Linked DNA regions of Homo sapiens: regions 2, 3, 4, 5, 6 and 7 are each linked to region 1. Evidence: promoter capture Hi-C in human tissues and cell types (Jung and others, 2019). All regions are on one chromosome and are shown on one strand. Each heading gives the region's core, a stretch centred on a gene start or on the middle of the fragment in contact. The rest is flanking DNA. Distances are from core to core; before and after follow the strand shown. Region 1 holds the start of AP1M1 (adaptor related protein complex 1 subunit mu 1). Region 2 holds the start of OR1I1 (olfactory receptor family 1 subfamily I member 1). Region 3 holds the start of DNAJB1 (DnaJ heat shock protein family (Hsp40) member B1). Region 4 overlaps HACL2 (2-hydroxyacyl-CoA lyase 2). Region 5 overlaps ZNF333 (zinc finger protein 333). Region 6 has its middle 4.2 kb from the start of SYDE1. Region 7 holds the start of OR7A17 (olfactory receptor family 7 subfamily A member 17).

What was found. Contacts are between HindIII fragments. The study calls those that stand out against the background at their distance.
Region 2: the fragment with the promoter of OR1I1 here is called in contact with the fragment with the promoter of AP1M1 in region 1 in 4 of the 25 tissues and cell types used here (dorsolateral prefrontal cortex, lymphoblastoid cells, mesenchymal stem cells and 1 more).
Region 3: a contact is called between the fragment with the promoter of DNAJB1 here and the fragment with the promoter of AP1M1 in region 1, in 1 of the 25 tissues and cell types used here (mesenchymal stem cells).
Region 4: a contact is called between a fragment that was not itself captured here and the fragment with the promoter of AP1M1 in region 1, in 1 of the 25 tissues and cell types used here (dorsolateral prefrontal cortex).
Region 5: a contact is called between a fragment that was not itself captured here and the fragment with the promoter of AP1M1 in region 1, in 1 of the 25 tissues and cell types used here (pancreas).
Region 6: a contact is called between a fragment that was not itself captured here and the fragment with the promoter of AP1M1 in region 1, in 3 of the 25 tissues and cell types used here (IMR-90 fibroblasts, dorsolateral prefrontal cortex and heart left ventricle).
Region 7: the fragment with the promoter of OR7A17 here is called in contact with the fragment with the promoter of AP1M1 in region 1 in 1 of the 25 tissues and cell types used here (H1 embryonic stem cells).

Annotation. Positions count from the first base shown.
Region 1 is chr19:16,196,248-16,199,561 of GRCh38, reverse strand. AP1M1 (adaptor related protein complex 1 subunit mu 1) reads right to left here and starts at 1,651. Exons shown (of 12, transcript NM_032493.4): 1 at 1,494-1,651. The coding sequence starts at 1,535. RefSeq lists a silencer at 1,268-1,507. The HindIII fragment of the contact is 7,648 bases long and covers 1-3,314 here.
Region 2 is chr19:15,080,597-15,083,947 of GRCh38, reverse strand. OR1I1 (olfactory receptor family 1 subfamily I member 1) reads right to left here and starts at 1,737. Exons shown (of 2, transcript NM_001004713.2): 1 at 1,672-1,737. The HindIII fragment of the contact is 16,029 bases long and covers 1-3,351 here.
Region 3 is chr19:14,517,135-14,520,617 of GRCh38, reverse strand. It overlaps DNAJB1 (DnaJ heat shock protein family (Hsp40) member B1), which reads left to right and starts at 2,221. Exons shown (of 3, transcript NM_006145.3): 1 at 2,221-2,479. The coding sequence starts at 2,269. RefSeq lists an enhancer at 198-927 and silencers at 1,840-2,159, 2,370-2,939. The HindIII fragment of the contact is 14,493 bases long and covers 1-3,483 here.
Region 4 is chr19:15,119,441-15,122,812 of GRCh38, reverse strand. HACL2 (2-hydroxyacyl-CoA lyase 2) reads left to right here. Exons shown (of 16, transcript NM_006844.5): 6 at 9-120; 7 at 2,732-2,831; 8 at 3,298-3,372. Among named protein-coding and RNA genes, the nearest start is that of ILVBL-AS1, 3.0 kb to the left of the region's middle. The HindIII fragment of the contact is 6,371 bases long and covers 1-3,372 here.
Region 5 is chr19:14,709,723-14,713,216 of GRCh38, reverse strand. The region is part of intron 7 of ZNF333 (zinc finger protein 333); the gene reads right to left. Among named protein-coding and RNA genes, the nearest start is that of ZNF333, 21 kb to the right of the region's middle. The HindIII fragment of the contact is 7,816 bases long and covers 1-3,494 here.
Region 6 is chr19:15,101,586-15,104,750 of GRCh38, reverse strand. No RefSeq gene overlaps it. Among named protein-coding and RNA genes, the nearest start is that of SYDE1, 4.2 kb to the left of the region's middle. The HindIII fragment of the contact is 6,045 bases long and covers 1-3,165 here.
Region 7 is chr19:14,884,754-14,888,169 of GRCh38, reverse strand. OR7A17 (olfactory receptor family 7 subfamily A member 17) reads left to right here and starts at 2,038. Exons shown (of 3, transcript NM_030901.2): 1 at 2,038-2,229. It also overlaps the pseudogene OR7A18P. The HindIII fragment of the contact is 7,391 bases long and covers 215-3,416 here.

The DNA.
Region 1 (3,314 bases), core at 402-2,901:
CAGCTGCTTTAGGGCTCACCCCTGCCCGCCTCACCTAGGACCTGACACCCATGTTTGTTTCTCTCACTGATCAATGTTGGGCTTCACATTGTTGGACCGGTTCTTGTTGCTTCCACATGCAACAGGCCAGGCAGCCACCTGCCTTGCACCTGGGATGGACTTAGGAGAAGGCAGAGGACCATTTCTAAAAGGTGGGGACAATCCCTTCTTAAAGTTTTCTCAGATCCTCTGGGGAAGATGCCTGGGTTCTAGTTTATGTCCAGCTCCCTGGTGTCTCTGGTCCATTTGTCACCCCTCCTCAGGGAAACCCTCTCTCATCCTCGGGCTGAGGCTGACTGTCTGTATAACACACTCGCCCCTCAACACCACTGCAATTGACATTTATTTGTGTTTTTGGAGATGGGTATCCATCTCCCCTACCAGCCTGTGAACACCGTAAGAACACAGATTGTTGAGCCCTGGCACATGACTCACACCTGTAATCCCAGCACTTTGGGAGGCTAAGACAGGTGGATCACTCGAGGTCAAGAGTTCGAGACCAGCCTGGTCAACATGGTGAAACCCTGCCTCTACTAAAAATACAAAATTTAGCTCGGCGTAGTGGCAGGTGCCTGTAATCCCAGCTACTTGGGAGGCTGAGGCAGGAAAATTGCTTGAACCCGGGAGGCGGAGGTTGCAGTGAGTGGAGATTGCACCACTACACTCCAGACTGGACGACTGAGCATGACACTATCTCAAAAACAAAACAAAAAAAAAGGGACTGTTTTTTGCTAAACACAAATCGACCCCAGGCTTAGTACCCTGCCCGGCATTAGTAGGTGCTCCCCAGATATCAGCTGAATAAACGAATGATTCTGGATCGGACTCCTAGACTTGCTACTTCTCTGTGACCATTGTGACCTTGGTCAGGTTGCTTCACCTCTCCATGCCTCAGTTTCTCCCTCTATAAAACGGCACTCGTGATCACCACTCACCTCACCTAATCCTTGTAACTCACTATCACAATGAACGTGGAGAAATTCCTACTGAGAGAAAGTGCACGATAAACAGAAGCTGTAACGCCCTGAGAAGGCGGGACTGGCTCGAGAGCACCCAGTCCCCGCCACGCCTCGCCACCCCCGGCCAAGGGTCGCGCAGCCCCTGGACGCCCTGCCTGGCTCCGAGGCCGGCTGCGGCCCCGCTTCTGGGTCCTCCACCGAGGCCCGAGCCCCCGGCCCCGGCGCCGGGGAGCAGAGGGCGGTGCAGTCAGTTACCTGGCAACGCGGTGGCTGCAGCCCACCGCGTTACGTAGCAACAGGGCGGGGATTACCCACTTAAGACCCCCGCCCGGTTACCCAGAAACAGGATGGGGCTCTCAGGTGAGGTCTACCGGCCTCTCTGCCTCACACCAGGATGGGGCTCATAAGCCGGTTACCTAGCAACAGGGTGGGTCCCCGCGGGCGGAGGCCCCTGCCGGTTGCCTGGCAACAGGGAGGGTGGGGAGCCCTCAGTACCTTGCCCTTCAGGTCCAGCACGTAGACGGCGCTGGCGGACATGATGGCTGCAGGAGGCCTCGGCAGCGGCCGAGGGCGGTGGCGGCGGCAGCGACGGTGGGGACTGCTGGGCGTTGAGCAAGGCCGGGCGCCGCCCGCGACAGCTCACCTCCACTTCCGGTTCGGGGAGCCGCGCGGGGACCGTTATGTCCGGTCCGGGAGGTGCTGTCAGGAATGCGCAGGCGCAGGACGGACTGTGCGCAGGCGCATTACGTCGTATGTAACCATGTTTCTTGCTCCCGCCAGAAGCATCCCGGAAGTAAGGCCCGGTGGGGCGGGGCCGACCAAATCAGGGCACCCAGTGGCCGCTGCCAGGCTGAGCTATGGAGCCAGAGCAGCTGGAAACGGCCTCCCGTGGGCCGAGTTAGGCGAGAGAGCCTGGTGGTGAAACCGACCTGGGGCCCAGCCCTATGGAGCTCACAGTCTGGTGGGGAAGTCTATGAAACAAGTGTACAGTCACCAATTGTGATAAGCTCAAAAGAGAGAGGTAAGGTCGTGGTTACTTGGAAAGAGGTCAAACAAACTTTCTGAATGGCAATCAAACCTTATCAACAGTCACCACCTGTCATTGTCAACATTTATCAATGAATGAGTGTGCCTGTTTATTGCCTGGAATGTTATGAAAACCAGCCTCACTGAACCTTGACCCAACATACCGTGTTTCATTTCTGCAAAGTTAGTAATCAGTAATGCAACTGGTGGCCCTTGATTAATCCATTGAGTCATATTTAATTTGCTTTTATGAACTCTTGGGCTTTGGAGAAATGCCTGCATTCTGTTCCAGTTAGCCATCATAGTACCCTGGGGATCCCAACCCTGCAATACCAGAGTGATTTACCCAGGATGCCTGCCTCTCACATCTTTTATTTTCTGTCTTATCTCCGTTTTGGCGTTTGGAAAGATGATTTTTGCAACTCGGTAATTATATAGTGTTTTGCTTAGGAAAGAAATGTGACCGAAACTCTAGAGAAGCAAACTAGAATGTTTGAAGACTGCTAAGTGACTCCTGGGCTGGAAGGATTCTTGCTCAAGGCACAGAGCAAGCAGCCAAGAGAGGGTTTTTGTTGTTTGCTTTTTTTTTTTTTTTTTTTTTTGAGATGGAGTCTCACTCTGTCACCCAGGCTGGAGTGCAATGGCATGATCTCGGCTCACTGCAACCTCTGCCTCCTGGGTTCAAGTGATTCTCTTGTGTGTCAGCCTCTCAAGTGGCTGGGATTACAGGCATGTGCCACCACACCTAGCTAATTTTTGTATTTTTAGTAGAGACGTGGTTTCACCATGTTGGCCAGGCTTGTCTCAAACTCCTGACCTCACGTGATCCACCCACCTCGGCCTCCCAAAGTGCTGGGATTACAAGGGTTAAGTTAAATATTAAAAGATAAGAGAGCCAGTGCCCTTATACAAAGGCTGGGATGTAACAAAAGCCCACCCAGAGTTGTGCCTAGGCCTTTCCTGGGCCTTGAAGCATGACAAGATAATGAAGGAATTCTTAACAGGACCCTTTTAGGATTAAACAAGCTTTATTGGCGGTCTGAAGAAACTCCTCAGGCCTCCACAAACAAGTTTATTGGGGTTTGAAGGAACTCCCCCAAACCTCCATGATTTAGCAGGAGATAAGATAAGGGTAATCACCCCAGCACCTGGACCCACTTAGATTAAGTAAATTTACTGAGGCTCCAGAGGAAGGTCTTCAGGACTCAGATCTTAGTTATGGGTTAAAAGACTATAACTTACTTACGTCTTTAGATGAATGCACACCTACACGTAGACATATAGCTTAGA
Region 2 (3,351 bases), core at 488-2,987, 1.1 Mb after region 1:
GGCACGATCTCGGCTCACTGCAACATCCGTCTCCTGGGTTCAAGTGATTCTTGTGCCTCAGCCACCCGAATAGCTGGGATTACAGGTGTGCATCACCACGCCCGATTAATTTTTGTATTTTTAGTAGAGACGGGGTTTCGCCTCTACTAAGCCTGTTGGCCAGGCTGGTCTTGAACTCCTGACCCGGTGATCCGCCCACCTTGGCCTCCCAAAGTACTGAGATTACAGGCGTGAGCCCAGTAATCTCATCATTTCAGCGCCCAGCCGATGAAAGGGGTTTTTAGGAAGGTTAGCAGCATAATCTCCTTGGTAACCCCAAGAGGCCTTCAGCAAAGCCCTATGTTAACTTTTTGAGGCTTTTTAGTGTTGGACTTGAGGTTTTTGCAATGCAATGCTTGGTTTTCTCTAGGCTGGATAGAATACTGCGATTCCCTTCCTGGCAACATATTTGTAACAGTCCTCAGTTGTTGACTTGGGTTGCATAGAGCAGCGGTTCTCAACCTTGAGCACGCTTCAGGGTCACCTGGAAGGCTTGTTAAAACACAAAAAGCGGGCCAGGCATGGTGGCTCACACCTGTAATCCCAGCACTTTGGGAGGCTGAAGTGGGAGAATTGCTTGAGGCCAGGAGTTCAAGACCAGCCTGGCAGACAAAGTGAGGCCACCCCACCCCCAATCCCGCCCTGGATCTACAAAAAATAAAACAATCTGCTGGGCATGGTGGCATGCTTCCATAGTCCCAGCTACTCAGAAGGCTGAGGTGGGAGAATCCCTTGAGTCCAGGAGTTAGAGACCAACCTGGGCAACACAGTGAGACCCCCATCTCTACAAAATAAAAAATTAGCTGGACATGGTGGCACACACCTGTTAGTCCCAGCTGCTTGGGGGGCCAAGGTAGGAGGATCTCTTGAGCCCGGGAGTGTGAGACCATCCTGGGCAACATAGGAAGATCCCTGCCTCTACGAAAATAAAATTAGCCAGGCATGGTGGTATATGTCTGTTATCCCAGGTACCCGGGAGGCTGAGGAGGGAGGATCACTTGAGCTTGGGAGGTCGAGGCTGCGATGAGCTATGATAATGCCACTGCACTCCAGACTGGGCAACAGAGCGAGACCCTGTCTCAAAAACAGAAAGAACAAACAAACAAACAAAACAATCCCCCCGCCCCCTCCCCCCCGCTCCCAAACTCATCATACACAAAAAGCTAAGCCCTTTCCCTGAAATGTCTGGTGTAAGAACCAGCACTTCTAGATAGTTTCCAGAGGATGCTGGTGCTTCTAGCCCAGGGACCACACTTGGGGAGCTGCTGCATTGGAGAAACTTGTTTCTCAAGACCTCTCCTATCTGTGCAGGTGTCCTGCAGCTGCAGACCCTCAGTGCTTTTCCTCCACATATCCTGCCACAGAGGGTCTGCCGTCTGCGTGCTTTGTCCACTCAGAGAGTCTAGACTTGGTCTCAGTCTCTTCTCTCTCTCTCGGCCTCTAGGAAGGAGACAGATTCCTCTCCCACAACCCTCCACCCCCACCCTCAGCTCAATCCTTTCCCCATCCCTCACCTGCTCACCAGGATGGCATCACCAAGGGGAGGGTCCCGGGAAGCCTCCTTCTCCACCAACTGCTAGAGGATCCCGAGGTCAGCACTAAACCCCTAGGAAGGGCATGGGGGCTACTCACCTGTGATCGCTGGGGTTAGCCTGATGTCTATGGGAAGGATTCATATGTGTACCCCCCCGCCCCCAGACTCTGCAGGTGAGTGGGGGAGCCAGGGGAACATCAGGGTATTTATAGTCTGGGGACTCTAGGAGACTTCGTCCCCATAGCTCCTTGTTAAGGAAGCGGATGCTAATTATTTTGTTTCTCCTCTGCCACATGTGACCTGTTCTTTTGGAGATGGGTGTGCTTTGGGATCATCGAGTGGGTAAGAAGAGGAAACAGTGACTAGGGATTCACTCTCACTAGGACATCTCCCTACGGTCTCCTTCCAGCTCAGGCTGAGCTTCATGGAAGCTCCCAGGCAGAGAGGTCTGGGGGGTCCCAGACTCCAGTCGGGCACTCAGATGCCTGAATCTGAGAGGTCCTTTCATTCATTGCATTATGGAAGAAACTGGCTCATTAAGGAAAGCTCCGAAGAGTATCAATCAATCAATAAATCGGTATTAAATAAATAAATTTATCAAACACTTTTTTTTGAGATGGAGTGTCACTCTTTCACCCAGCCTGGAGCACAGTGGAGCAATCTCGGCTCACTGCAACCTCCACCTCCTGGGTTCTAGCAATTCTCCCTCCTCAGCCTCTTGAGTAGCTGGAATTACTGGTGCCCACCACCATGCCCAGCTAGTCTTTGTATTTTTAGTAGAGACAGGGTTTCACCATGTTGGAAAGACTGATCTCAAACCTCAAGTGATCTGCTCTCCTCGGTCTCCCAAAGTGCTGGGATTACAGGCCTGAGCCACTGTACCCGGCCTATCAAACACTTCTTGATCACCTGCTTGGCACTGGAGTTGGACACGGTGGCTCATGCCTATAATCCTAGCTACTTGGGAGGCCAAGGTTGGAGAATCCCTTGAGCCTAGAAGTTTGAGACCAGCTTGGGCAAAACAGCAAGACCTTATATCTACAAAAAATTTAAAAAAATTAGCCAGGATTGGTGGCACATGCCCGTGGTCTCAGTTACCCAGGAGGCTGAGGTGGGAGGATCACTTGAGCCCTGGAGGTTGAGGCTGCAGTGAGCTGTGATCGCACCACTGCATTCCAACCTGGACAACGGAGTGAGACCCTGTCTCTTAAAAAAAAAATCCTTCCTATCAGCCACACAGAACGTGTGTAGGATACTTGTTGAAATTCTCCTAGGGGCTTTAGTAAATATTAGAATTACTTTCCCTAATAATATTGGCTGTTGGACTGTTGGCTCTTGGATCGTAACTCTGTGGGGAGGTCAGCTTCAAAGCAAGAACAAGGTAGACCAACTTCGCGTTGGACATATGGGGATATGAGTAGGTGCCAATCCCACTGTCATTATTTTTTTAAAATTAAAATTATTTTCAGAGGCTGGGCATGGTGGTTCACACCTGTAATCCTAGCACTTTGGGAGGCCGAGGCAGGTGGATCAATTTAGCTCAGGAGTTTGAGACCAGCCCGGCCAACATGGTGAAACCCTGTCTCTACTAAAAATACAAAATTAGCTGGACGTGCCTATAGTCCCAACTACTCAGGAGGCTGAGGTGGGAGGATCCCTTGAGCCCGGGAGGTGAAGTTTGCAGCAAGTTGAGATCATGCCACTGCACTCCAGCCTGGGTGACAGAGTGAGACCTTGTCTCAAAAAAAAAAAAAAAATCAATTTGAGCCCAAAGGTTG
Region 3 (3,483 bases), core at 972-3,471, 1.7 Mb after region 1:
CAGCCCCATCCTCCCGGGTTGTCCAGTTCTAGTCCAGAGTTCTTGCTGATGCAGTTACCTCAGAGATCATTGAGTGGGCCAAGAGAACCAGATCTGCCTGCTGGATGCTCCTGATAGTTATTTATGTAACTATCCGCCATGATGCTCCTGATAGTTATTTATGTAACTTTTTTATGGGGAGGCTGAGGGTCTCACTGTCACCCAGGCTGGAGTGCAGTGGCACAATCATAGCTGCCTGCAGCCTCAAATTCCTGGGCTCAAGAGATCCTCCCGCCTCAGGAGGCAGGAGGATGGTCTTCTTCTTCAGGAGTCCCTGTCTGCCCAGGGGCAGCTGTCACTGGAATCTTTTAGCTGCCAGGAATGAGGTGATGGCTGAAGAGCCCACCACTAAGAAAATGGTTAGTCACCCCTTTGACAATGCTTCCTTTGTGCCATGCCTGCTCTGAGCACTTTGCAAATGTTGACTCATATAAACTTCAAAGCCCTCATGATGTGGGCACAACTGCTATCCTCATTCCTCATTGTGCAGATGAGGAAGCTAAGGCCAGCAAAGGCCTAGTAACTAACCCAAGGTTACCCAGCCGGGAAATGCTGGAGCTGGGAATGAAGCCCAGCTGTCTGGTTCCAGAGCCAGTGTTACATGGCTCTGACCTCCCAGGCAGTTCTTCCAGGAACCTCCCCCACTTCCCTGGGCCCTTCCCAGGTGGAACCCCTTTCTGAGCCTCCTTTTCCCATCAGCTCTGTCCTTGACAGAGGCACCCCAGACTTTCAGAGCCAAACGCGATCGTGTTGCCTACAATTGAGGAAACAGAGGCCTTGAAAGGTGTGTGACACACCTATGTCCCCCCAAATTATAAAGGTAGTTGGGGAAGAAAAAGAAGCACGTGTGTAAGAACGGGGAATATTTATGAGGTTCTCACTGCGTTCCAGGCACTGGGGACCCAGTGCAGACAGGACCTGGCCCCTGCCCAGGTGGCGATGTCAGACTGGGAGGGAAGACACATTGAAAGCCAAGAGACAAGATAAATTTCAAATTTAGCGGCAAGTGATCTTGAGAGGGCAGTAAAGGGAAGAAGGCGGGACTGGGAGGACCTTGGGAGATGCGCTTCCGTCCAGATCCTCACCTTGCTTTAGGAGGTGAGAACAGAGGCAGTCTTCCGTCCCAAAATCCTTCTCCCCACGGTTGGGAGAATAGCGCTGGTGGGTTTTTTGTTCATTTTACTTTATTTTACTTATTTTATTTATTTATGAGACGGAGTCTCGCTCTGTTGCCGAGGCTGGAGTGCAACGGCCGGATCTCGGCTCACTGCAACCTCCGCCTCCCCGATTCAAGCTATTCTCAGGCCTCAATCTCCTGAGTAGCTGGGATTACAGGTTCGTGCCACCAACGCCCGGGTAATTTTTATATTTTTAGCAGAGATGGGGTTTCACCATGTTGGCCAGGCTGGTCTCGAACTCCTGACCTCAAGTGATCCGCCCGCCTCGGCCTCCCAAAATGCTGGGATTACAGGCGTGAGCCACCGCGCCCGGCCTGTTTGTTAATCTTAAATAGAAACGGAGTCTCCTTATGTTGCCTAGGCTGGTCTCCAACTCCTAGGCTCAAGAGATCCTCCTGTCTTGGCCTCAGGAAGTGATGGGATTACAGGCATGAGGCTCCGCGCCCGGCCTGATAGGTTCTCTTATTGCCATGTTGTAGATAGAAGGGGGCCCCTGGGTTAGGCAGACACAGGTTAGGTAGTTCGTCCGGCGTCACCGGGCGGGAGCCCACCGCAGGCCCCACGAGACAAGGGCGAGCAGGTTCATCGCCTCCCGGGGAAAGGACTGGGTAGTCCCAGGCCCCACCCCTTCCTGGAACAGCAAGTTCGCTGTGGGTCCCGACCTACTGACCCAGGCGGAGGGCGGGACGCAGGGTAGCTGGGGCCGCGTAGAGAGGGAAAGAAGGTCGCGATTGGCTCGTCCCGAAAGGTGGGCGGGGCCTCCTCCGACCTGTGCGCGCGCGCCGCGGGGAGGTGTTGCCGAGGGCGGAGCGGGAGGGGGCGTGGCCCCGCGCGGGCGGCCGTTGACGGCGAGGCCCCGCCCCGGATGTCGCGTGTCGCTGAAAGGGCGGCGGCGATTGGCCGGCGCCGCGGGGGCGGGCGGGGCGGAAGGTTCTGGAGGGGGCTGGCGGGCTCTGGAAGCTTCCGCCGGACGGGTATATAGAGTCCGGGACTGGTCGGCGGCGGAGCCGGGGGACGGCGACAGCGGGTCGGCGGGCCGCAGGAGGGGGTCATGGGTAAAGACTACTACCAGACGTTGGGCCTGGCCCGCGGCGCGTCGGACGAGGAGATCAAGCGGGCCTACCGCCGCCAGGCGCTGCGCTACCACCCGGACAAGAACAAGGAGCCCGGCGCCGAGGAGAAGTTCAAGGAGATCGCTGAGGCCTACGACGTGCTCAGCGACCCGCGCAAGCGCGAGATCTTCGACCGCTACGGGGAGGAAGGTGTGTGCTCGCGGCCAGGGGCGCGGCCCCGCCTTTTGACAGACAGGGAAACTGAGGCACGCTGGCCCCTCTCGGCGGCCCCCCGGGAAGGACGCCCCGGGCCGTGGGGCCGAGCTGCCCCGCCCTCCGGCCTCGCGGGCCTCCGCCCTCGGATTGGCGGCCGCGCGGTGGGAGGAGGAGCCTTGGCCCAGCCGCTCGGCCAGAAGCTTCTAGCATGTCTGGGGCTGCCCCTCCCCGGGCGCCTCCTCCCGCGGCCCCGAGCAGCCCCGGGGTGCGGTGCATGGGGGTGGGGGAGCCGGGGGTGACGACGGGGACGGCGCGGCGGAGCCCGCTGCGGACCCGGGCTCACCTGGGCTCGGCCGCCGGGGTCCGCGGGGCGGCGCCTCCGGCTCAGCTGCGGGGCGAGGGGTTGTGAATGCAGGAGCCGACCCCGTTCGTGGGCTTGGGGGCTGGGTTGGGATAATTCCCGGGAAGTGATGACCTGGCCCCGGCAGGGCACGCAGGAGGCAGCGGCCGCCCAGGTCCGGAGAGCGGGGCCGCCTCGGAGGGTAAGGAGAGCAGGGCTTTTTGTTCCTGTGCCCGTTGATGATTCAGGCTGGCTTCTGGGCTTGATCTGGAGCTGACTTTTTGTGCAAGGATGGTGGCAGTGAATGCTAATGTGTGAGGATTTAAAAACTCCCTATTTATTTTTGTTTTTTTTTTTCTTCTCTTCCTACGCACCATTAGCCCTAAAACGTTGAGAGTAAACACTTACCGAAAGCCGACCCTGGACCATGTGTCTTTAGCCATCTCTTGGTGATGTTGCCAGGAGGATGGGTCAGTCCAGGAGTGGCAGGGCCTAGGTGGCACCTGGAGGTGAACACCTAACCGCATGAGTCCTTTTCCACTGTCAGGCTACGCGGAAATACTGTTGGTAGGGGGGCGTCTCTGCTGTTGGCAGTGAGAGGTAGAAACTTGGGGTTCTTCCTTGCTCTCCCCTGACAGACAAAAAAGTTCCTCCCCCA
Region 4 (3,372 bases), core at 755-3,254, 1.1 Mb after region 1:
CCCTGCAGGTCCGGTGTTTGTGGAGCTGCCCGTTGACGTGCTGTACCCCTACTTCATGGTCCAGAAGGAGATGGTGCCAGCCAAGCCACCCAAGGGCCTCGTGGGCCGAGTGGTCTCCTGGTGAATAGCCCCACCCCTGCCATTCCCTCCTTTATCCCCCGTTCTCTCCTGCAGCTTCCAGCCCACACCCATCCTCCTTTGATTCACATGTGGACTGGGAGGAGACAGCTGGGGGGAGAGCATTCCAGGTAGAAGGAACAGCATGTGCAAAGGTCCTGAGGCAGGAATGAACTGGGTGGGTAGGGAAAGCAAGGCGGCCCTCGTGGAGGCAGCAAAGGGGAGAGGCTCAGGACAGCCCTCCTCCTCCTCCTTTTCCCTTTCTTCTCCTCCTCCATCATCTCTTCTTCCTCCTCTTCCTCCTCCCTCTTCCTTCCTCTTCTCCTCCCTTTCCCCCACCACCTTTCCCATCGTCCTCTCCGTTTTCCTCCTCCTAAAGGATGATCCTTGAACCTCGGAAGGGAGGTTCATTCTTACATTTACAGAGGAGGAAGCTCAGAAAGGTGAAGTCACTTGCCCAAAGTCACACAGCTAAGAAGTGGCAGAGCCCAGGCCGGGTGCGGTGGCTCTCACTTGTAATCCCAGCACATTGGGAGGCCGAGGTGGGCAGATCACGAGGTCAGGAGATCGAGACCATCCTGGCTAACATGGTGAAACCCCATCTCTACTAAAAATACAAAAAAAAAAAAAATTAGCCGGGCGTGGTGGCGGGCGCCTGTAGTCCCAGCTACTTGGGAGGCTGCGGCAGGAGAATGGCGTGAACCCAGGAGGTGGAGCTTGCAGTGAGCCAAGATCGTGCTACTGCACTCCAGCCTGGGTGACAGAGCAAGACTCCGTCTCAAAAAAAAAAAAAAAAGTGGCAGAGCCCAGACTCGAGCCCTCTCCTTCCTCCTCCTTTCCTTCCCTCACATCTTTGTCCTTTTCTTTCTTTTTTTTTTTTTTTGAAACAGATTCTTCGTTCTGTTGCCTAGGCTTGAGTGCAGTGGCGTGATCTCGGCTCACTGCAACCTCCGCCTCCCCCTGGGTTCAAGTGATTTTCCTGCCTCAGCCTTCTGAGTAGCTGGGACTACAGGCGCCCGCCACCACACCTGGCTAATACTTGTATTTTTAGTAGAGACGAGGTTTCATCATGTTGGCCAGGCTGGTCTTGAACTCTTAACCTCAAGTGATCCACCCTCCTCGGCCTCTCAAACATTACAGACATGAGCCACTGCGCCTGGCCTCTTCTCTTCTTCTTCTTCCTTTCCTTTCTTCTCCTCCTCCTCTTCCTCTTCTTCCTCCTTCTCTCCCTTCCCCTCAGTCCCTTCCCTTTGCCTGTCCTTGGCCCTTCCTTTCCATACATTTAGCGAGCGGCAGCCATGTGCCAGGTTCCAGGACAGGCACGGGGCATCATCAGTGGACAAGGTAGTCAGGCTCCTGTACTCCGGATGTGTGTGAAGCGCCTGAGGGTCAGCTCAGGCAGTAGTGATTTTGTTCTATGGCCTCTTTATTTTTTTTGAGACGGAGTCTCGCTTTGTCCCCCAGGTTGGAGCGCAGTAGTGCGATCTTGGCTCACTGCAACCTCCACCTCCCGGGTTCAAGTGATTCTCCTGCCTCAGCCCCCGGAGTAGCTGGGAATACAGGTGCAGTCCACCATACCCAGCTAATTTTTGTATTTTTAGTAGAGATGAGGTTTCACCATTTTGGTCATATAGCCTCATTCTTAATGCACTTTGCCCCCTGGCTTCCCAGTCAGTCCCTCCCCTTGTTCTCCTTGCCCCTCTCTCTTGGGCTGCCTCTCACAAGGCTATCTCTTATCTTGCCTTTTTTGTTTTGTTTTGTTTTGAGACAGGGCCTCACTCTATCACCCAGGCTGGAGTGCAGTGGTATGATCATAGCTCACCACAGCCTTGAACTCCTGGCCTCGAGCAATCCTCCTGCCTCAGCCTCCCTTGCCTTTTCTTTACTTGCGGGGCTTCCCACGGTTCCATCCTGGGCTGCTTCTGTGCTGTCTTGGCCTGTCCTTAACGGTGAAAGCAGAGGCTTCTGACTCTGAGCTCCGACTGTTTCCTGCCAATGCCCATGTGTCTGTCTTTCGCTGGATAGAGCGCCCCCTGAGGGGAGGGCTGGGCAGGATCTATCTTTGTGTCTCCAGGGCCCTGCACAGGTCCTTCAGGAAAGTTGGGGCCCTGGGGCCCAGTGAGCAAGGAGACCGAGAAGACCCTGTTTGAAGCAGGAGAGGACAGTGTTCAGAACTCCCATGCAAAGCGCCTCATGTCCTAAGTGGACAGATCCTTGAACCTGGGGAGGGAGGTTCATATTTACATTGACAGAGGTGGAAGCTCAGAAGGGTGAAGTCACTTGCCCTAAGTTGCACAGCTAGGAAGTGACAGAGCCAGGACTTGAGCTCACATCTGTTGGACCCACAGGCTTAATCCTGGCATGCTGAGCCTGCGTTCCTTGCTTCTGGGGGGCTACGTGGAGTTGGGGTGGACCCCAGAGGCTACCGAGGGCAAACAGGCAGTTGAAGACCTGGCCACTAGGGTTCGTCTGTCCCTGAGGTGTCACTCATCCACCCTGTCCCCATGCCACTTTGCTCCTGGCTTTTCTCCCGGCCCCTTTCCTTGCTCAGATCCTGGAATCCTTGTAGTTAGTTAATTCTGGCAACTTGGTTTCTTCCCCCTCCCTTTTGCAGGTATTTAGAGAATTACCTGGCCAACCTCTTTGCAGGAGCCTGGGAGCCTCAGCCCGAGGGACCGCTGCCCCTGGACATCCCCCAGGCTTCCCCGCAGCAGGTGAATTGCCTCTCTTTTGTGTCTGAGGACCCTACCCTCTCCCTGAGGGGAGAGGGCCCCCTGACCCTCTCCCTGAGTCAGTACTGGGGCCTTAATCTTGGGTGCTCATGGCGACTCAAGGGCGGCCCTTTGGCTGGACGCGGTGGCTCACAGCAGCAATCCCAACACTTAGGGAGGCCGAGGCAGGCGGATCACTTGAGGCCAGGAGTTCAAGACTAGCCTGGCCAACATGGTGAAACCCTGTCTCTACTGAAAATACAAAAGTTAGCCAGGCATGGTGGCACGCGCCTGTAATCCCAGCTACTCTGGAGGCTGAGGCGGGAGAATCGTTTGAACCTGGGAGGTGGAGGCTGCAGTGAGCTGAGATCATGCCATTACACTCTATCCTGGGCAACAGAGTGAAACTGTGTCTCAAAAAAATAAATAAATAAAAAGACAGCCCTTTGATCCCCACCTCTCGCTCCAGGTTCAGCGCTGTGTGGAGATCCTGAGCCGGGCCAAGAGGCCTCTGATGGTGCTGGGGAGTCAGGCCCTGCTCACC
Region 5 (3,494 bases), core at 24-2,523, 1.5 Mb after region 1:
TTGCCCCATCACCGTATTTTGGAAGCAGATCACTTGCTTTCTGATTTCTCACAGGTTCGCAGATGGAGAGGAATTTTGCCCCACAATGGACCACACTCTGAGTCTCCCTCATACCTGCTGTAGATGACTGACATGAAGAGTTGTGGGATTCTCATCAGATGAGATGAAACTTTGAGTTGATGGTGCTTAGATGAGATTTTGCACTTAGAGTTGACGCTGGAATGGATTAAAACTTTGGGACCACGTGAGTGTATTTTGCATGTGGAAAGGACATGAATTTGGGGGGACTAGAGAACAGACTGCTATGGTTTGAACTGTGAACCCCCCAAAAAAGAGAAGTCCTAACCCCCAGTACTTCAAAATGTGACCTTATTTGGAAATAGGATTGTTGCAGATGTAATGAGTTGAGACGACAGGAGAATAGGGTAGGCCCTTAATCCAATATGATGGTTCTCCTAACAGAAGAGACAGAGACAGATACACAGAGGTGACACAGCCATGAGGCAACACAGGCAGAGACGGGAGGGCTGCATCCACAAGCCAAGGAGCACCAAGGGCTGCAGGCCACTGTTAGAAAGCAGGTGGCAGGATCCTCCCCCCCGAGCCATCAGAGGGAGCACGGCCCTGTCGACACCTTAATTTCGGACTTTTGGTATCCTAAATTGTGAAAGAGAAATTTCTGTTACAAAAAAACTAGGCCAGGCACAGTGGCTCACACCTGTAATCCCAGCACTTTGGGAGGCAGAGGCCAGCATTATCATTTGAGGTCAGGAGTTTGAGACCAGCCTGGCCAACATGACGAAACCCCGTCTCTACTAAAAATACAAAAATTAGCTGGGCGTGGTGGCACACATCTGTAGTCCCAGCCACTCGGGAGGCTGAGGCACGAGAATCACGTGAACCTAGGAGATGGAGTTTGCAGTGAGCCAAGATTGCACCACTGCACTCCAGCCTGGGCAACGGAGCAAGACTATGTCTTAAAAAAAAAAAACACTCATCACCGTCCTCCCAAAGCCTGCTCTCCCTAACCATGTCCTCAATCTCAGGAAGTGCTGCCCCTGTCTTTGATCAGAAATCTCACCCCTCTCTGACACTCTACAGATCCCAGCAACTAATCAGAATAAATAGTGATGACGTCTCTACATGGCGGTACTCACCCCCAAGCCCCTCTCCCACCCATTCCCGCTACAGCCAACACCTACATAGAGCCTTTTCTTTTTGGATCCACTGAAACGTCGCCCTCAGAGTGCCCCATCCTGAGGTCTCCTCCCCTGTAGAAAGAGCCCCTTCTCTCCTTTTCTCTGATAGGACCCCTTCCCTTTCTTCGCAGCCCTTACCCATCTGTAACCAGCTATGTATTGCTGCCATGAGTGTTTCTTTTCTGTCATCCTCACTGGATTGGAAGCTTTGTAAGAATAAGCCTGGGTGCCTTTCACCATCCTGTCCCCGATACCTTACTTGGCACAAAAATGCTCCATGTCATTGGTAAATGAATACATGAACCACCAAATCAACTCAACCTCCTCAATATAAATGTTTTATATGCATTATTACTATAATTTTTTTGAGACAGGGTCTTGCTCTCTCACCCAGGCTGGACTAGCTCACTGCAGCCTTCAATTCCTGGGCTCAAGTGATTCTCCCTCCTCAGCCTCCTGAGTAGCGAGACCACAGGTGCACACAACCATGCCTGGCTAATTTTCTTATTTTGTAGAGATGGGGTCTCGCTATGTTGCCCAGGCTGGTCTCCAACTCCTGGCCTCAAGAAGTCCTCCCACCTCAGCCTCCCAAAGTGCTGGCCTCTATGTGTTTTAAATCATTCCTCACTTCCCTACTGTGCAGAAAGGCGTTAACCCAGCAGGCCTGGATGGGCTCCTTAATGAGATGTGTTTGCAAGGTTGGCCCTTGGGTGGAGTCTGGGAACTTGGATTTCAGGAAGGTTCCCGCCCCCCTAACTGGTAAGAGAAACTCGCTCCACTTAAACTGCTTGTACAAACAATGCAGTTTATGTTGAACACCTGCTTTCCTTCTGAAAGTCTGGAATTTAGGGACTGTTTGTTTCCTCCAAAACTCACACCAAAACGTTAATCCCCAGTGTCGGAGGCGGGACTTGGGGGCAGATCCCTCAAGAATTGATTAACGCTCTCCCTCAGAGAGAAGGAGTACTCTTCTACTACTTTCCAAGGAAGCTGGTTGTTAAAAAGAGCCTGGCACCTTTCCCCCTTCCCTTCCCTTCCCTCCCCCACTGCCCCCGCTCCTGCTTCCTCCCTCACCATGTGATCTCCGCACACTGGCTTCCCTTCCCCTTCTGACCTAAGTGGAAGCAGCCTGAGGCCCTCGCCAGGAGCAGATGTTGGTGCCGTGCTTCTTGTACAGCCCACAGAACCATGAGTCAGATACACTTCTTTTATTTACTTTTATTTATTTTTTTATTTTTTAAGAAGGAAATCTCACTCTGTCGCCCAGGCTGGAGTGCAGTGGCGCAATCTTGGTTCACTGCAACCTCCGCCTTCCGGGTTCAAGCAATTCTCCTGCCTCAACCTCCCAAGTAGCTGGGATTACAGACATGCACCACCATGCTCGGCTAATTTTTACATTTTTAGTAGAGACAGGGTTTCGCCATGTTGGCCAGGCTGGTCTCAAACTCCCAGCCTCAAGTGATCTACCCACCTTGGCCTCCCAAAGTGCTGGGATTACAGGCATGAGCCACCACACCTGGCACCCCCTTTGCTGATTCTGCTTCATATCCACTTCTGGTAATAAATCACAGCCACGAGTACGACATCTCCTGTGAGTCCTCCTAGTGGATCATCAAGACTGGGGTGGTCTTGGGGGAACCCAGCACACCTCCTCCACACTCAACCCCCAAGTCTAGACCAGCACCATTCTACTCCTAATGGCCTCCACCTACCACTGCTTTCCTCCCTGAGCCCACGCTCCTCACAGGTGGGCTGGGGGGTGCGGTTCTGTTAAAACCACAGGTGCATTGCACCACTCACCTAAACACGTCACTGGCTCCCAGCGGGCTTAGAACATGGGCCAAGGTTCTTTTCCTGCACTTCCAAGCCCTGAACAATCTGGAAGCTGCTTCTTCTTCAGTCAGCTCACACCACTCTCTCTCCACTTCTCCCTGCTGCCTTCACACCATCTTCCATGGGCCCTGGATGCAACCAGTTCTCTGCTCCATGGGGAATTTTATCAATGTTGTTCCTAAGCCTGATATCCTCTCTCCGAACCTCCTGACAGCCCAACAGCTGACCAAGCTAAATGTTATAGTATTTATCATGGTCTAGGTCAGGGTTTGACCCCCAGGGGACATTTGGCAATGTCTGGTGTTGAGCTGTCGAGCTGTCATTCCAAAATACCATGCGCTAGGTGACTTAACAGAAATTTGCTGCTAACAGTTCTGGATGCTGGAAGTTTGAGATCAGGATGCCAGCATGGTTGGTTCCTGGTGAGGGCTCCCTTCCTGGCTTGCAGATGGCTGCCTTCTG
Region 6 (3,165 bases), core at 378-2,877, 1.1 Mb after region 1:
AATTCAGATTCCCAGCATGGTCTCACAAGACTTCCAGCCTCATCTCTTTGGCTGTCCCATTCACTCACCATGGCCTCCTTTCTGGTTCTCCTTCATATCAAGCTATTTCTGCCTCAGGTCCTTTGCACACATGGTTCCTTCTGCCTGGGAAGCCCTGGTTCTTCTGAGGCCACCTCTCTCTCATCCTTTAGGTCCAATGGCACCTTCTAGGGAGACCCTTTCTGTCCACCACCTCTGTCTAGTCAGTATCACATTACTCAGTTTCCTTTCTTCTAACACTTGCCACAACTTGAATTTAACAGTCCCAGTGGTTTGTTCTAGTTTATCTGCCTCCTCGTCCAGACTGGGTCTCCACCAAGTGATCAAGTGATGCTTGTCTATGTTGTTCACTGCTGAATATTCAGGTAGGAGATCAGGTGTCAGGTGATGGAGGTCTGTATAGGAGGGGGTGTCCAAGAGGCCTGGACGAGGAGGCTGTGTGTGTTTGGTTTTAATGTGTCTTTGTGTGGTTCTCTGTGTTTATTGTACTTGGAGTTTGTTGAGCTTTGTGGATATGTAGATTCATGTCTTTCATCAATTCTGGGCTTCTGGGAAGTTTTTTGGCCATTATTTCATCAAATATTATTATTATTATTTTTTGAGATGGAGTCTCACTCTGTTGCCCAGGCTGGAGTGCAGAGGCATGGTCTTGGCTCACTGCAACCTCTGCTTTCTGGGTTCAAGTGATTCTCCTGCCTCAACCTCTCAAGTAGGTGGGGTTACAGGTGCCTGTCACCATGCCCAGCTAATTTTTGTATTTTTAGTAGAGATGGGTTTTCGTCATGTTGGCCAGGCCGGTCTCAAATTTCTGACCTTAAGTGATCTGCCCACCTTGGCCTCCCAAAGTGCTGGGATTATAGGCATGAACCACCATACCCAGCCTCATCAAATATTCTTTCTGCTCCTTTCACTTCTCTCCTTCTGGGACTCTCATTATGCATATATTGGTATACTCATTATACAACTGTTGATATACAGTTCTCCTAGGTGCTGTTCACTTTTCTTGGATATGTGTGTTTGGGGGGCATCAGTCTGTAAAAGGGTGGAGTGCACCCTCCTCCCTATGAGATCCCTGCGCAGATGTCTTTGAGGCAGCTATTGACAATGGGGAAAGAAGTCAGGGGTCAAGACAATACCTGTTTACAAGTTGAGGGTAGAGGCTGCAGGACTAAGGTCCCAATGGGGTATTTCAGAGTCTCAGAGGAGCTGGGGTCTGACATGGGAGTGAGAGCAACCCTTAGCCCCACCCATATGACACCCACATACCACATAAATATTTATTATTATTATTTTGTGTAAATCTTTTTGAGTTTTTGTACTTTTCCTGTTGTCTTTATTTGCCTGCATGTAGCCTATTTAATTCACCATTGGCTCTGATTCTTTCTTAGCAATCAGAAATTTCCATAAGTGAGAACAGATTATCTGCAAATTGTATGTAATGAAATGGTTATGAATTCTAAGTTTCATAATGATGTTTGTATGCTTATTCCTGTGGATTTTGCTAGTTGCTGTACAGATTTTAGAGCCTGTATGCGTACATTTTCTTTTCTTTTCTTTTATAGAGACATAGTCTTGCTTTGTTGCCCAGGCTGGAGTGCAGTGGCACGATCTTGGCTTACTGCAACCTGTGACTCCCTGGTTTAAGCGATGCTGCTGCCTCAGCCTCCTGAGTAGCTGGGATTACAGGCACACACCACCACGTGCAGCTAATTTTTATATTTTTAGTAGAGATGGGGTTTCACCATGTTGGCCAGGATGGTCTCGATTTCCTGACCTTGTGATCCATCCACCTTGGCCTCCCAAAGAGCTGAGATTACAGGGGTCAGCCACCGTGCCTGGCCCATTTTCTTTTCTTTTAAAAAAATTTATTTTCATGGCCGGGCACTGTGGCTCATGCCTGTAATCCCAGCACTTTGGGAGGCTGAGGCGGGTGGATCACGAGGTCAGGAGTTCAAGACTAGCCTGGCCAAGATGGTGAAACCCCGTTTCTACTAAAAATATAAAAATTAGCTAGGCATGGTGGCAGGCACCTGTAATCCCAGCTACTCGGGAGGCTGAGGCAGGGGAATCGCTTGAACCCAGAGGGTAGAGGTTGGAGTGAGCCAAGATCGTGCCACTGCACTCCAGCCTGGGTGACTAAGACTCTGTCTCAAATTTTTTAAAAATTATTTTCATGTTATTTTTATTTACTTTATTATTATTATTTTATTTATTTTTCTTGCTCTGTTGCTCAGGCTGTAGTGCAGTGGCACTACCACAACTCACTGCACCCTCAACCTCCTAGGCTCAAGTGATGTTCCTGCCTCAGCCTCCCAAGCAACTGGAACTACAGGCATGTGCCACCATGCCACAGGCTGATTTTTCTATTTTTTTGTGGAGATAGGGTCTCATCATGTTGCCTAGACTGTTCTCAAACTTCTGGGCTCAAGTGATCTTCCCACTTTGGCCCCCCAAGTGGCTGGGATTACAGGTGTGAGCCACCGTGCTTGGCCTTATTATTTTTAGAGACATAATCTCCCTCTGTCACCCAAGCTGGTGTGCATTGGTGTGATCATAGCTCACTGCAGACTTGAACTTCTGGGTTCAAGCAATCCTCTTGCCTCAGCCTCCTGAGTGGCTAGGCCTATAGGCATGCACTGCCATACCCAGCTAGCTTTTAAATTTTTTTTGTAGAGACAGGATCTTGCTATGTTGCCCAGGCTGGTCTCAAACTCCTGACCTCAAGCGATCCTTCTTCCTTGGCCTCTCAAAGTGCTGGGATTACAGGTGTGAGCCACTGCACCTGGCCACGTGTGTGTTTTCTTTCCCCTAAATGTTCTCATTGGCTGCAGGTCTGATGTGCTGTGCTTTTGGTACCTGGTGGATTAACCAGCCCCAGACACATATAGACCAATTAGTTGAAAGACCAAAAGACCATTTCCTGTCAGTTTTGGGCAGAGCTCAGCACCTCTGTGGTAGTCAAGGGGAATTGATGGATAAATACCCCAGCTCCCTCACCCTTGTGTTGGATGATTGAGGTTCATGTTCTACACTGACCCCTAGTGTTCACCCACGGGATTGAGCTCCAGCTGTCCACTGTAGAAACCTGGTTATCAATACACTCTTTGCTGACTTCCTTCCCTTCCC
Region 7 (3,416 bases), core at 789-3,288, 1.3 Mb after region 1:
AAAAGATAGCAGAGCAGGTTATAAGAGTCTAAAAATGAACATACTCATGCATGTATCTTGGTAATAGAATGATTTCTATTCCTTTGGATATTTACCCAGTAGTGGCATTGCTGGATCAAATGGTATTTCTGGTTCTAGATCTTTGAGGAATCACTACACTGTCTTCCACACTGGTTGAACTAATTTGCATTCCCACTAACAGTGTAAAAACATTCTTATTTCTCTGCAACCTTGCCAGCATCTGTTTCTTGACTTTTTAATCATTGCCATTCTGACTGGCATGAGATGGTATCTCATTGTGGTTTTGATTTGCATTTCTATAATGATCAATGATATTGAGCTTTTTTTCATATGTTTGTTGGCCACAGGAATGTCTTCTTTTGAGAAGTGTCTGTTCATGTCAAAGACATAGAATCAACCCAAATGCCCACCAGTGATAGACTGGATAAAGAAAATGTGGTACATATACCCCATGAAATACTATGCAGCCATAAAAAGGAACAAGTTCATGTCTTTTGCAGGAACGTGGATGAAGCTGGAAGCCATTACCCTCAGCAAACTAACGCAGAAACAGAAAATCAAATACCACATGCACTCACTTATAAGTGGGACCTGATCAATGAGAACATATAGACATAAGGAGGGGAACAACACACACTGAGCCCTGTTGGGGGGTGGGGTGGGGGGGAGGGAGAACCTTAGGAAAACTAGCTAATGCCTGTGGGGCTTAATACCTAGGTGATGGATTGATAGGTGCAGCAAACCACCATGGCACACGTTTACCTATGTAGCAAACCTGCACATCCTGCATATGTACCCCAGAACATAAAATAAAATAAAAGGAGTCTAAACATTTTTAATGTGAATTTTTGGAGCCAGGCAGAGGAGGACAGAGAAGATGTCCCTGAGTATAATAAAGCAGACGTGGAAGGACACTCATGCAATCTCCTCCCCGTGTGGACCCCTGGAAGCAGGTGTCCCTTCATGATCACAAATTTCTGTCTCCGAGAAGCAAGGCATGTCCTTTCCCAAGAAACTTTTCCAGAATCACAAACTTTTCCTACTCTTTGCAGGGATGAATGTATTTCTGCAGACTGTGATGGCCTATGACCACTTTGTGGCCATCTGTCACCCCCTGCACTACAGGGTCATCATGAATCCTGGGATCTTTGGACTGTGGGTTCTGGTGTCCTGGAGCATGAGTGCCCTGAATTCCTCACTGCAAAGCAGAATGTGTTGCAGCTGTCCTTCTGCACAAACTTGGAAATCCCCCCATTTTTTTCTGTGAACTTAATCAGTTGATCCTGCTTGCCTGTTCTAACACTTTTTTTTTTTTTTTTAGTGAGATGGAGTTTTGTTCTTATTACCCAGGCTGGAGAGAAATGGCGCCATATTGGCTCACTGCAACCTCCACCTCCCGGGTTCAAGCAATTCTCCTGCCTCAGCCTCCTGCATAGCTGGGATTACAGGCAACTGCCACCACACCCGGCTAATGTTTTTGCACTCCAGCTCAGGTGATACAACAAGACTCCATCTCAAAAAAATATATATATGAAATTCTAATGTTTTGGCAAAAGCAACATGAAGCCAAGAAATGTAGTACCCATGGTTTTATATGAACAGAACACAGTTCATCTCCTTGCAAAGGTAAATTGCCATTTTCTGGATATGTCAAGAGCTGAGTTTCCATCACAAGCCAGTGCTTTGGAGACTCAAGGGACCTAGTCAAGACAGGTTCCTCAGTTTAGACTTTGGAGGAAATTTTCACTGAAGGCTGGGAGAAGGTGCTAGGAGAATGGGACTCTGGAAGCCAAGGAAGTCCACGGGGAAGGAGTAATAAAGCCTGGATACACCTCACTTTTAACATAGTGTCTTGGGAATAGACGATACAGAAAAAAAAAACAACAATGACATTTGTTTCAGTGCAGGGCAACGTCCCCCAGGAAACTGATGTGTTCAGAGTTGGAATAACAGGAGGAAAGGTATCTAATCAGCAGATATACGAAGCCATAAATATCTCCTCTGCTGCAGTCCCTCAGCATATGCAACCTTGGGCTGGAAATGACATGGTGGTTTCATTTGGAGTCCTTAGTCTGGCTCAAGTATAGATGATGCTTCAACTTTTCCTGATGCCTTGTCTTGAGACAGAGATTCCATCTCCACCATCAACCTGCTAGAGAGGAATTTACACTTCTCCATGGAGACCTTCCTTTCAGAAAACTCAGTAGGGTAAGTCCCAGAGCCCAGTGGGTACTGTAGGAAAGGTCAGGAAGAACAAGAGCCGTGAATATTAACCTGAGGTCACCTGAGAGCCAATCATTTCCTCCAGCTTTGTTCCTTTTGCTTAGAAATGTCTTGGCTATACGGGCTATTTTTTGGTTCTATATGAAATTTAAAGTAGTTTTTGTAACTCTGTAAAGAAAGTCAATGTTAGCTTGATGGGGATAGCATTGAATCTATAAATTACTTTGGGCAGTATGGCCATTTTCAAGATATTGATTCTTCCTTTCCATGAGCATGGAATGTTTTTCCATTTGTTTGTGTCCTCTCTTATTTCCTTGAGCTGTGGTTTGTAGTTCTCCTTGAAGAAGTCCTTCACATCCCTTGTAGGTTATATTCCTAGGTATTTTATTCTCTTTGTAGCAATTGTGAATGGGAGTTCACTCATGATTTGGCTCTCTGTCTATTATTGCTGTATAGGAATGCTTGTGATTTTTGCACATTGATTTTGTATCCTGAGATTTTGCTGAAGTTGCTTATCAGCTTAAGGAGATTTTGGGCTGAGACGATGGGGTTTCCTAAATATACAATCATGTCATCTGCAAACAGAGACAATTTGACTTCCTCTCTTTGTATTTGAATACCCTTTACTTCCTTCTCTTGCCTGATTGCCCTGGCCAGAACTTCCAACACTATGTTGAATAGGAGTGGTGAGAGAGGGCACACTTGTCTTGTGCCAGTTTTCAAAGGGAATGCTTCCAGCTTTTGCCTATTCAGTATGATATTGGCTGTGGGTATGTCATAAATAGCTCTGATTATTTTGAGTTATGTTCCATCAATACCTAGTTTACTGAGAGTTTTTAGCATGAAGGGGAGTTGAATTTTATCGGAGGACTTTTCTGCATCTATTGAGATAATCATGTAGTTTTTGTCATTGGTTCTATTTATGTGATGGATTACATTTATTGATTTGCATATGTTGAACCAGCCTGGCATCCCAGGGATGAAGCCGACTTGATGATGCTGGATAAGCTTTTTGATGTGCTGCTGGATTCAGTTTGCCAGTATTTTACTGAGGATTTTCACATTGATGTTCATCAGGGATATTGGCCTGAAATTTTCTCTTTTTTTGTTGTGTCTCTGCCAGGTTTTGGTATCAGGATGATGCTGGCCTCATAAATTGAGCTGGGGAGGAG